Regions from separate parts of the Homo sapiens genome. Here region 1 is linked to region 2. The links are contacts of gene promoters, found by promoter capture Hi-C in human tissues and cell types (Jung and others, 2019). All regions are on one chromosome and are shown on one strand. Each heading gives the region's core, a stretch centred on a gene start or on the middle of the fragment in contact. The rest is flanking DNA. Distances are from core to core; before and after follow the strand shown. Region 1 holds the start of LOC124901576 (a long non-coding RNA gene). Region 2 holds the start of AMZ1 (archaelysin family metallopeptidase 1).

Evidence for each region. Contacts are between HindIII fragments. The study calls those that stand out against the background at their distance.
Region 1: a fragment that was not itself captured here is called in contact with the fragment with the promoter of AMZ1 in region 2 in 1 of the 25 tissues and cell types used here (dorsolateral prefrontal cortex).

What each region holds. Positions count from the first base shown.
Region 1 is chr7:3,951,073-3,956,734 of GRCh38, forward strand. SDK1 (sidekick cell adhesion molecule 1) reads left to right here. Exons shown (of 45, transcript NM_152744.4): 7 at 658-848. LOC124901576 (a long non-coding RNA gene) reads left to right here and starts at 863. Exons shown (of 2, transcript XR_007060195.1): 1 at 863-966. The HindIII fragment of the contact is 3,750 bases long and covers 1-3,369 here.
Region 2 is chr7:2,683,068-2,689,503 of GRCh38, forward strand. AMZ1 (archaelysin family metallopeptidase 1) reads left to right here and starts at 5,135. Exons shown (of 7, transcript NM_001384743.1): 1 at 5,135-5,229. RefSeq lists an enhancer at 5,834-6,103. The HindIII fragment of the contact is 48,320 bases long and covers 1-6,436 here.

The DNA.
Region 1 (5,662 bases), core at 245-2,744, 1.3 Mb after region 2:
TCCATGACCTGTGACGAGCCGACGATAGAAGGATACACTGGAGCATGAGGTTCAGCCTTCTAGCGACAGTGGTCTTGTTTGGCCGGGTGGGCCATGAATACGAGATATGGGTAGATAAGGAAATGGACACACTGATGTCTTCCAGAGTCCCCCACTGCAACAGGGCGGTGCTTTCAATGCAGCTCTGGGTGGTAGTGGGGGGCTCCTCTGAGATCCTCTCTAGGGAAGAGAGAGGAGTTGAGGCAGAGGAAAAAGTTCATTGCTCTTCTCCTCTTAGTCAGCCAAGGTGTTCTCTGCCTACTTAGCGGTCGCTCCAGAATCAAGCTCGGATGATCCCGCCTTCCATGTCGTTGTGTCCCCTCACAGTATTTATTTTAAACATTCATTTCCTGAGCAAATGGGATCATTAGCACTTATGGTCCATTGCTGCGGCAATTAGATATCCTTGCTTAATAGCCCTTGAGCAGAATGCATCGTCAATGCGTGCTGGGAGGGAGTAGAGTTACATCTAGATTGAGTTTTCAGTGTCCGTTGTTCAACCCACCATGCACCCTGGTAGCATTAGCTTCGTCAAGCCTGTGCCGAGTGCCTGAGATGATGACCGTTGCCACCTCCCTGAGTCACAATCGTCGTCATGAATGCCTTTCATTCCCACAGGCCTGTGGAGGACCTGAGTGTGACCTGGAAGAGGAATGGAGTGAGAATCACCAGTGGCCTCCACAGCTTTGGAAGACGCCTCACCATCAGCAACCCGACGTCCGCGGACACCGGGCCATACGTCTGCGAGGCGGCGCTGCCGGGGAGCGCTTTTGAACCGGCCAGGGCGACGGCCTTTCTTTTCATCATAGGTAATGCGGGAGCCTCTAAGTGGTGTTGCCAGCATCTCAGATAGCATCCGACACTGACTCTTCTGCAGAAACAAAATAGCGTATTTCAGTGGCTTTATTTGTAACTCGGCAAATGAAGGTGAGGTTGAGTTTACCTTCGAAATCCTTCCTAGCCTTCTTTCCCAAGAATATAAGTCCATTAAATCCAAAGTGTTGATGTTCTCAATCCTTCCAAGAAACGTCCTTCTGAATACTCCAGTCACAAAGCTCGGGAAATAGAGCGGTGAAACCCCTGTCATATAGATCCCTCTCCTATTCTAGCTTTAGGCTGCTAAGCTTTTCTGTAACTCTTATTTGGCTATCGTGATCGGTGTTCAGAAACTATTCTATTATTGCTGTCCAGGCATGGTGGCTTATGCCTGTAATCCCAGCACTTTGGGAGGCCAAGGTGGGCGGATCACTTGAGGCCAGGAGTTCGAGACCAGCCTGGCCAACATGGTGAAATCCCGCCCGTCTCTACTAAAAATACAAACATCAGCTGGGCGCAGTGGCGGGCGCCTATGATCCCAGCCACTCGGGAGGCGGAGGCACGAGAATCACTTGAACCCAGGAGGCAGAGGTTGCAGTGAGCCAAGATCGCATCATTGCAACCCAATCTGGGCCACAGGAGCAAAACTCCAACTCAAAAAAAAAATTATTAATTTAGAAATTATTCTATTAATTATTAATTTAGCTGTTATTTTTTGACCTAGCAGAAAATGTAAAACTATCGGATGTTACCTTTTGTTAAACTTAAAAAAAAAAAGAGAACAGAGATGCTTCCTCAAACTGGGCGACATATTATTCCTGAACCAAGGAGAAAGAACATAAAATTAAGTACACTGGAGTTGCCCAGCTCTAAATGCTGGAAACTATTAGTGTTTAGGGAGTGTGCATTGTACAGTGGCTAAGAAAATACAAAACCTATTATCAGTTTATGAGGAGGTTAAGTTGTGAGGCAAGTGACTTTATTTCTCTCATTTTTCCAGCTACTGTCATGCATTTATTCTTCATAAGTGGCCGTGATGACTATGAGAGCAGCCTGTGTTCCGCAGTGGTAGCCGCTGTTGATAAGAGGTAGCCTTAGAGGCCGCCTCTAGGAAGGAGAATCTCGACTTCCTCTCTCCTCTTTGGGAAAAAGGGGAATTGAGAACAGGAAAATTCAAATAAGAAAACCCTCAGAGAGCCCCTTAAATAAAAAAATTTGCAGTCTGCCACTTTGCAAAATAAGGAAAAAAAAAAAAAAGCTTGTGTTTTCCTATGAAACTAGCAAGAAAAGGAATACTGCACAAAAGGTGGTTTACCTTGATCACGTCCCATTCCTTTAATCATTAGGAAATGACTCCATGTCCTGACCTTGACTCTTCTAAATACAATGCAGTGCAAACCTGTCGGTCCCTCTGAAAGAAGCGAAAGTCTGTTAAAAGCATCCAAGGAAGCCGGCTTTGAGTCACCAATCACTGTTGATTCTACATGAGAGGCCTGAGCTGGTATTGCTACCTTCCCCATCCATGCTTCCGCTACAGATGTAAATATCACATCCCATTCTCTGCAAAGATTTTTTCATCGAGGTTGATCTGTAGTTCTAGGAGCACAGCACATTATAGATTCAGCCAAAATTAAAATTTGCGACGTGTAAATCTCTAGTAGACAGGACTATACCGTGTTCAAACATTTTAAGGTAATTTAAACAAGAGAAGAAATTTATCTCCCTTTAAACGAGAATGTTTGTTTCGATCATCATTCCTTTTTAAAATATTTAAATCTATCTTAAGAGCTTTAGTTTTACATTTATATCTGATTAGTTTTGTGTTCTCTCGAGTTAGCACCTCTCCGTGTTCTGACTTTTAAAGGTACACAAACACACTTCACTTCTTTATGATGTTGAGTTAAATCCCCTTTTATTCATAAGAATTTGCTGTAGCAGGTAGGATTTTTGTGGTTGGCGCACACTGCAAAAACCCTGAAGAGAGTGTCTGTGTCAATTCCGAGGGATTTGGATGAGATTATAATCCCACGCCCTGTGGCCGAGCATTATTGGTTTCACAGGGCTGTCACCATGTACCTGTCAAAAGGGCCACCCGTAGGAGCACACAGGCCAAAGACAGAGAAACAAATGGGCTCCTATTACTTGTATTTTATACTGATGACACAGGACAGGCTAGTTGGGCTGTTTGCCCACCTGCCTGTCTATGTTGCTTAATTTCTGTGGCTTGAATGAGAGCACAGAGGTCGGCTTCCAGGCACCACCCCGCCACTGGCTGCCCAGTCCTGTGGAGCAGCCCCTCTACGCCCTCCACCCTCCCCTCCTGCCTCCCCTCTACACCCTCCTCTCCCGCATCACCTCTACACTCTACAGCCTCCCCTCCTGCCTCCCCTCTACACCCTCCCCTCCCCTCCTGCCTCCCCTCTACACCCTCCCCTCCCCTCCTGCCTCCCCTCTACACCCTCCCCTCCTGCCTCCCCTCTACACCCTCCACCCTCCCCTCCTGCCTCCCCTCTACACCCTCCCCTCCCCTCCTGCCTCCCCTCTACGCCCTCCACCCTCCCCCCTCCCCTCCTGCTTCTCCTCTACACCCTCCTCTCCCCTCCCACCTCCCCTTTACAACCTCCCCTCAACACCCTCCCTTCCCGCCTCCCCTCTATACTCTCCGCCCTCCGTTCCCACCTCCCCTCTACACCTTCCCCTCTGGCCTCCCCTCTACACCCTCCGCTTCCGTCCCACCTCCCTTCTACACCCTCTACACTGCACCATTCATGGGCTTGAATGAGTGTTGGCCTCAGTTTCCACATCCATAAAATGGAGATGGATGTAGATGGTACCAGCTCATATTGTGAAGGTTAAATGCAAAAATGTCTGTCACAGAGGCTCTGAAATAGTGGCTTTAGTTGCTGTTGGCATAACTCTATTATCCTATATGTCCCATTGCACTCGCTATTTACCAATAATCAGTTATGTGACACACATTTTTCATGTTTAGTGTCTCTGGAATCAGGATGTGCCTCACCACCTATGAAACCATTTTTTTTTTCCTTGGGGTAAGACAAGGATGCCCCTTACCTCTGACTGCAGCACCTTAGTGCCTGTGAGATGCATCTTCCCTCCGAGCCACGCCTTCTCCACGGTCTCCTCATCACACACGAAGCCAGCTGCTCCCACATGTGCCCTGCTCCTGCTGAGCACGATGGCTCGGAAACTCGGACGGCGAGTTTTCACTGGGATGGACTCTTTACCTGGTGGGGCATCTGCTGCCAGCCCCTTCAAGTTGTTCATGGAATTCAGTGCTTGTGGCTTGGGGGCTGGCTCCTGGCCAGGGGTCCCCTCAGGTTCCAGAGTCCCCTGCATCCCTGGCTCATCTCCAGAGCCAGCAGCTGCGGCTGAGTTCTTGTCACACATGGAAGCTCTCTGCTGTCCCCTGTGCCTCCAGCTGCAGAAAGTCCTCTCCTTTTAGGGGCTCACATGATTAAATTGGGCCCACCCAGCGAATCCAAGAGAGTCTCCCTATTTTAAGGTGGGATACCTAATCCCACCTGCAGAGTCCCTCTTGCCAAGTGAGACAGCATATTCATAGATTCCAGAGGTGTGGGTGTGGACACCTCCGGGAGCCGTTCTGTCCACCTCGGTGGACTAGCGTGCAGTGCAGGCCAGCCGAGGGCATGCGTGGGACATGCTGCTCCCTGAGAGGGGCGACCTGGAAGGAACAGGGAGGCAGCGCAGGAAACATCTTTGGATCTTGCAGTGATCCCTACACAGAAGAAGCTTTGCAACTCAGAAGCCAAATCCCAGCAGCATTGGGGATGGGAGAGCAGGAAAAATGCATGGTGTTGTTGGGGGGTCCTTCTCCACTGCGGTTGCCTCCATTGGGCCTGAGCCTGCACTTTGTCACACTGGCATTTTGGAGAGTGAGGTCATTTGACAGAGGCCCTTGGTTTGGGGGCAGTCTGGGAGGTCTCCCCACCTCCTCTCCTGAGACTGGGGAGCTAGAAGCTTGCGCTGCCCCTGGAGGCAGCTGCCATGGGCTCTGGGCCATGTGGAAGGCGGAAAATCTGAGCTGGCCTTTTCCTAACACCCTGACTTCACACAGGGCATGAGAACCTTTCCCTGATGTCTTCATATTGTTTCAAAAGAGGGAGAAGTGTTTGTTTCCATCCCCTGTTTTGTTGGCTGCAGTCAGGATCAATTTTCAGAAGTCCAGGGTGGACCCATGTTGGCAGAGTACCCTTTCTAGACACAGTTGCCACTGACAGGCTAAGACATGCCCTCGCCCTCTTGCCCTCTGAAGAGTAAGTGGTTGAGAGTCTATGCACAGGATGACTCATTTACAATGGGTTTTCCCCAGTGTTTAACTCACGGGCTTTTCACGGTCCATAGGCTTGGCATTTCCTCCGGTTCTTTGCCTTAGAGCAGACTGTGTGTAAAACCGTAGCTGGAAATGGGGAGAAACTCCATCTGAGCAGCCGCTGGGTTAGAATACTAGGAAGGGTTGGCAGGGAGAGAACTCGTACCCTCACACGGTGGGGAAGTACTAAGGGAAGCTCAGAGGCCACGCAGGGCATGGGCAGCTCTGCACCTGCTCCCCAGGCACAGCGACCTGGAAGGCTTTCCAGAACAAGCTAAGAGCATCCACAATGAACAGCCAGATGTTTTCCACCCATGCCTAGCACTGAGCTACTAAAACTGCCCAGGACATTGGCCCCTGCAGGCGGTGGCAGGCTGCCCCCCAGACCTTGCCCATGCCACAGTACTATGGAGAGTGTGGAGTGGGATGAGTTTTCTCACCAGGTGGCATGCTGTG
Region 2 (6,436 bases), core at 3,885-6,384:
GCTGCTGCTTCCCAGGACTCCTTGTGCCAATGCCCCGGGAGAGTTTTCCTCTTCCTTATAAAACCCGTGTGAAGCATTTTCCTGTTTTCCAATGTGGATGAGTTTCCTGCGGCTGCCGTGACAAATGACCACAGCTGTGCGGCTTCAAACAGCACACATTCACTGTCAATTCTGGAGGGCAGTGGTCTGAAGTCAAGGCTGGGGCAGGGCCGAACTTCTGCAGAGGGCTCCAGGGGAAGGTCCTTCCTGCCTCTTCCTGCTTCTGGGGGCTCCAGGTGTCCTTGGCTTGTGGCTGCACCACTCCCATCTCCGTCTTCTCCTCTGTGTCTCTGTGTCTTCAACTTTCTGTTTTTTTGTTTGTTTGTTTGTTTTTGTTTTTGTTTTTTTTGAGACAGAGTCTGGCTCTGTCACCCAGGCTGGAGTGCAGTGGCACGATCTCGGCTCACTGCAAGCTCCGCCTCCCAGGTTCACACCATTCTCCTGCCTCAGACTCCCGAGTAGCTGGGACTACAGGTGCCTGCCACCACGCCTGGCTAATTTTTTTATATTTTTAATAGAGACGGGGTTTCACCGTGTTAGCCAGGATGGTCTCGATCTCCTGACCTCGTGATCCGCCTGCCTTGGCCTCCCAAAGTGCTGGGATTAGAGACGCGAGCCACCGCGCCCAGCTCTGTCTGTTTTTTACAATATTTTGTAGAGATGCTGCCCAGGCTGGTCTCCAACTCCTGGGCTCAAGTGATCCTCCCACCTCGGCTTCCCAAAGTGTTGGAGATTACAGGCGTGAGCCACCTCACCCAGCCTCTTTCTCTCTCTTTTTAAAAAATTGTTGGCTGGGTGTAGTGGCTCATGCCTATAATCCCAGCACTTTGGGAGGCCGAGGCGGGTGGATCACTTGAGGTCAGGAGTTTAAGACCAGCCTGGCCAACACAGTGAAACCCCATCTCTACTAAAAATACAAAAATTAGCTGGGCTTGGTGGCACGCGCCTATAATCCCAGCTACTCAGGAGGCTGAAGCAGGAGAATCGCTTGAACCTGGGAGGCAGAGGTTGCAGTGAGCCAAGATCACGCCACTGCACTCCAGCCCGGGTGACAGAGCGAGACTCCATCTCAAAAAAAAAAATTGTCATTATTTTTTACATTGTCTTGTTCCTCCAATGAGGAACCTCTTTCTGTCTCTTACAAAGTCACTTGCATTGGATTTAGGGCCCACCCTGACTCTGACCCAGGATGACCTCATCTTGAGATCCTTACTTTAACCATATCTGCAACGACTCGGTTTCCAAATAAGGTCCCATTCTGATGGTGCAAGTAGGCACATTTTTGGGAGCCGCTATGTAACCCACCCTGGGGAAACTGAGGCAGGGCAAGGTGAAGCAGCTTCCCCAGGCCACACAGTTCTCTTTTAACCCCAAGTCGGCCTGGGTCAGAGGATGGTGATGGGGTCAAAGTTGGGGGCGGCCCCCTTTGTTCATCACTGAAAGGACAGGGGTCCCCATATCACGGCCTCTTTCTAGAATAGACTCTGACGAGGTAGCTTCAACCAGAAAGGGGTGTGCAGTCTGCCGGTGGGAGACCAGCGTGTCCCGGGTGCAGTGTGGACAGGGCGTTGGCTGAGTGAAGCCTTGGCTGGCAGGGGCCAGGTCATCAGCAGGCTGCCTCTGTGTTTCGGGGGTCCTGGCACTGGGCATGGCGCCACCCAACTTGGGGCACCCAGGAGGGGCCCTACTCATCTGGGCTTCCAGTCTCCCGGGCTGACCCAACAGACAGAGGAGGAACTGCCACTCTGGGCTTGACACATAATTGCTTTTTTTTTTTTTTTTTTTGAGACGGAGTCTCTGTCGCCCAGGCTGGAGTGCAGTGGCGCGATCTCAGCTCACTGCAAGCTCCGCCTCCCAGGTTCACGCCATTCTCCTGCCTCAGCCTCCTGAGTAGCTGGGACTACAGGCGCCCGCCACCACGCCCGGCTAATTTTTTGTATCTTTAGTAAAGATGGAGTTTCACTGTGTTAGCCAGGATGGTCTTGATCTTCTGACCTCGTGATCCGCCCGCCTCGGCCTCCCAAAGTGCTGGGATTACAGGTTGAGCCGCCGCGCCCGGCCTCGATGCATAATTTCCTTTCCGGTGGCTATTCAGGGAGGGGCGTGGGGGTTGGGGGGAGGATATTCCACAACTTCTTTGTAATAAGCAGCTTTAGGACAGAACATTCAGGCCAGGCTCGGTGGCTCACGCCTGTAATCCCAGCAATTTGGGAGGCCAAGGCGGGTGGATCACTTGAAGTCAGGAGTTCGAGACCAGCCTGGCCAACAGGGTGAAGCCCTGTCCTTCCTAAAAATACAAAAATTAGCCGGGCGAGGTGACGGGCACCTGTAATCGCAGCTACTTGGGTGGCTGAGGCAGGAGAATCGCTTGAACCCAGGAAGTGGAGTTTGCAGTGAGCCGAGATCGCGCCACTTGTACTCCAGCTCTGGGCAACAGAGTGAGACTCCGTCTCAAAAAAAAAAAAAGGCCGGGTGCGGTGGCTCATGCCTGTAATCCCAGCACTTTGGGAGGCCGTGGCAGGCGGATCACGAGGTCAGGAGATCGAGACCATCCTGGCCAACATGGTGAAACCCCATCTCTACTAAAAACACAAAAATTAGCTAGGCATGATGGCAGGCGCCTGTAGTCCCAGCTACTTAGGAGGCTGAGGCAGGAGAATGGTGTGAACCCGGGAGGTGGAGCTTGCAGTGAGCCGAGATCACGCCACTGCACTCCAGCCTGAGTGACAGAGCGAGACTCCGTCTCAAGAAAAAAAAAAAAAAAAAAAAAAGAACATTCATCTTTTCTCAGGTTCTGGGTTCTCCATCCCCAACAGAAATAACCTGGAAAATCCCTGCGGCAACACGTGTGAAGAAGTGCAGCTTTCTGAGTCACAATCTATTTGTAGGAATTTATCCCAAGGTGAGGGGGACCAGATACCTGTACAAAGATCTGTGGAAACAAGATCGTCTATCACAGTGATATATGCTAGTGAGACACCAGGAGAAACCAAAATATCCCAAAGCAGGTGACAGATCCATGACACGGAGTCCAGCGCAGACCATCAGGGTGTGGAGACGGACTTTTGGCTATTGATGAGTGTGAAGTCACGGGCCGCCTGCAGAACGCAGTATGTGACGTGAATCCCTTAAAATATGTATTTAGGCTGGGCACGGTGGCTCATACCTGTGATCTCAACATTTTGGGAGGCCGAGCTGGGAGGGTTGTTTGAGCCCAGGAGTTTGAGACCAGCTTGAGCAACATAGCGAGATCCCATCTCTACATAAAAGTTTCAAAATTAGCCAGGTGTGATGGCACGTACCTGTAGTCTCAGCTACTCAGGAGGCTGAGGGAGGAGGATTGCTGGAGTCTAGGAGGTCGAGGCTACAGTGACTCGCGTTTATACCAGTGCATTCTAGCTTGGGCAATAGAGCAAGATCCTGTCTCAAAAAAAACTTTTTAAAAATACATTTCAATGTGGAGGAGAAGGCGATCAGAAGGATGTCTGACAAGAAGGTGAGAGAGGTTACCTCTACACAGTTGGCTTATGGGGTCTTCTTTTTGTTTTTATTTTTCATAATTTTCCAAATTTTGCACACCGGACACCTAGTGTTGTGTTGTTTTTCTCTCTCTCTCTTTTTTTTTTGAAACAAAGTCTTGCTTTGTCACCCAGGCTGGAGTGCAGTGGCATAATCTCGGCTCACTGCAACCTCCGCCTCCCGGGTTCAAGTGATTCTCCTGCTTCAGCCTCCCGAGTAGCTGGGACTATAGGCACCAGCCACCACGCCCAGCTAATTTTTTTATTTTTAATAGAGACGGGGTTTGACCATACTGGCCAGGCCGGTCTTGAACTCCTGACCTTGTGATCTGTCTGCCTCAGCCTCCCAAAGTGCTGGGATTACAGGCATGAGCCACCACGCCCAGCCGTGTTATTTCTTAAGGCTTAAAAAAATTCTTTGAGGCTGGGTGTGGTGGCTCACGCCTGTACTCCCAGCACTTTGAGAGGCTGAGGCGGGTGTATCATGAGGTCAAGAGTTTGATACCAGCCTGGCCAAGAAGGTGAAACCCCATCTCTATTAAAAATACAAAAATTAGCTGGACACAATGATGGGTACCTATAATCCCCACTACTCAGGCGGCTGAGGCAGAAGAATGACTTGAACCCCGGAGGTGGAGGTTGCAGTGAGCCCAGATTGCACCATTACACTCCAGCCTGGGCGACAGAGCGAGACTCCATCTAAAAAAAAAAAAAAATTCTTTGCACTGGTGTGGGACGATGGTGACGAATCCCTCAGCCATCTGTGGGGCGCTGCTGAGGGCGTGGGGGGCATTTCTGCACGGTGAAGCAGAGCTGGTGGGAGGCTGCCCGAGGGAAGCTGGTGCTGGGAGGGTTTGCAGAGAGGAAAAGGGCAGTTTATGGAAAAGGCCTCTGGGCTCTGTCTGGAGCCGTCATGCCGGCCTTCACGGCATCCTTCCGCACTTAGAGTCCTTTCCATCTCCTGGTGGCTGGCACAGGGCCAGGGCTGCACTCACAGCTGGCCAGGGTAGGGCAGGGCGCCCGTCCTCAGGGCCACTGACTGTAGGGCTAACCTAGGGGCCTGGTTCACCCCTCTCACCTGGGGCTTCGCTGATAAGCCTGGTTCACCTCCTCACCTGGTGGCCTCGTTCACCCCCTCACCTGGCGCCTTGCCTGATAGCCTGGTTCACCCCTCTCACCTGGGGCCTCTCCTGGTGGCCTGGTTCCCCTTCCTCACCTCGTGGCGCTGGTTCACCCCTCTCACCTGGGGCCTTAACTGGTGGCCTGGTTCACCTCTTCACCTGGCGCCTTGCAGAGTAGCCGGGTTTACTCCTCTCACCTGGGGAGGCACGAACTGGCCCGGGCTGACTGACCTCCCTCACCTGTTTGGCTTTAGGCTCTGGGGCCCCCCTGCCCGGGTGTTTCTGGGAGGCTGGAGGGTCCCACGTGAGCTCCACCGCGGGCAGCTGGAGGGAGTGGGGCAGGACGCTGAGCGCCGGGAGGGGTGTGGCCCTCCTGTCCTGCCCGCGGCCCCACACCGGCCCCAGTCCCGCCCGCCTCGGTCCCTGCCCCGCGCGCCGACGTCACCGGGACCTCCCGATCCTCCCGGCCCAGGCCGAGCTGCCCACGCTGCTGCCCGGGGCTCGGTGCCCGGCGCGGCCTCTGCCGGCTCCGGCGGGCGCGGGACTGCGAGGTAGGGGGGCGCGCGGGGAAGACTCGGGGGCGCAGGGACCGAGAGGGACCTCCGTGCCGGGGCGGGTGGGTAGGGGCAGCTCCGGGTCCAGCCCGGCCCGCGCACCAAGTCCCGAGGGCGCCCGGGCGGCGGCGGCTACGGGCGCGCGGGGACCGCGGAGACGCGAAGGGCGCACTTGGCGAGGGTTTGGTGCAGCGCCGCGCCGGGGTCCGCACAGCCCCGGCAGGTCCTGCAGAGGGAAGGCCGGGCCAGGGAAGGGCCACGCGCCCCCTCCCCGCCATCCTCTCCCAGGCCAGGGCGACCTGCGCGCTTCCCGATGGGAGCAAACTGGGGACGGGTCGGGAATCCAGGGCCAAGCGCCCGAAAGAAGGCGTTTCCGGGCTGGGGCGAGCCAGGTGGGTGCGGGACGTCCCCGGGGAACCTCCAGGGCGCCGAGAATCTCGTCGTGCCCAGGGCTCCCCGCAGCCTGTGTATGAGCCGGGGAGGGAGAAGGCTTCCTCCCCCAGGAGACTGAGGGAGAAGGCTGTGGATATGATCCCTGCAGGGATGTAAGACAGGTCTCAAAACCAGAAAAGCAAGGGAGGGGTGACAGAGAAATGGCAAACTTTACAAAGGACAGGGGAGGGCAGGGACCTGGGTCCTTTCTGCCCCCATCACGGGAGGGAAACACTTGGCAGAGGAGTTTGGGGTTCGCAGGTGAGGAGAGAGAACAGGAAGCCAAGAGTCTGGCCCGGAGGCCACTACCCCTGCGGTCTAAGCCCCCGGTTTTCCCTCCTAGCGAATGGAAACTGAGAGGTGAGAAACCCCCAAAACCATCCGTCCGTCTGGTTCTGCCTGAAGGTCTCCGCTGTCAGCTAATGAATAGCTCGATGCAGCTGCTGGGAGGTTTTGCAAAGCGCATTCAGAATAGCGAGAATCAGAGCATGGTTTCTTGCCCAAAGGCCAGGCATCTGCGTGGTCAGATGGGGGAGCATGAGTGCCCGGAGCTGTGCGGTTTAGGGCAGCCTGACCTTGGATACCTGGTTACTGGGCCAGTCTGGCGGCCCTTGTTGCTTAGAGCGGCAGAACCTCCCTGGGGGGGGGATGCGGACGTGCTCTTTTCCAGTCTTTGGACAAAAAAAGGCAAGGGGAGGAGGAAGGAGAAGCGTCTGAGTTTACCCATGGTATTAATAGCAGCAGGGCTGGAACTCGGGTGCTCTGGGAGAGG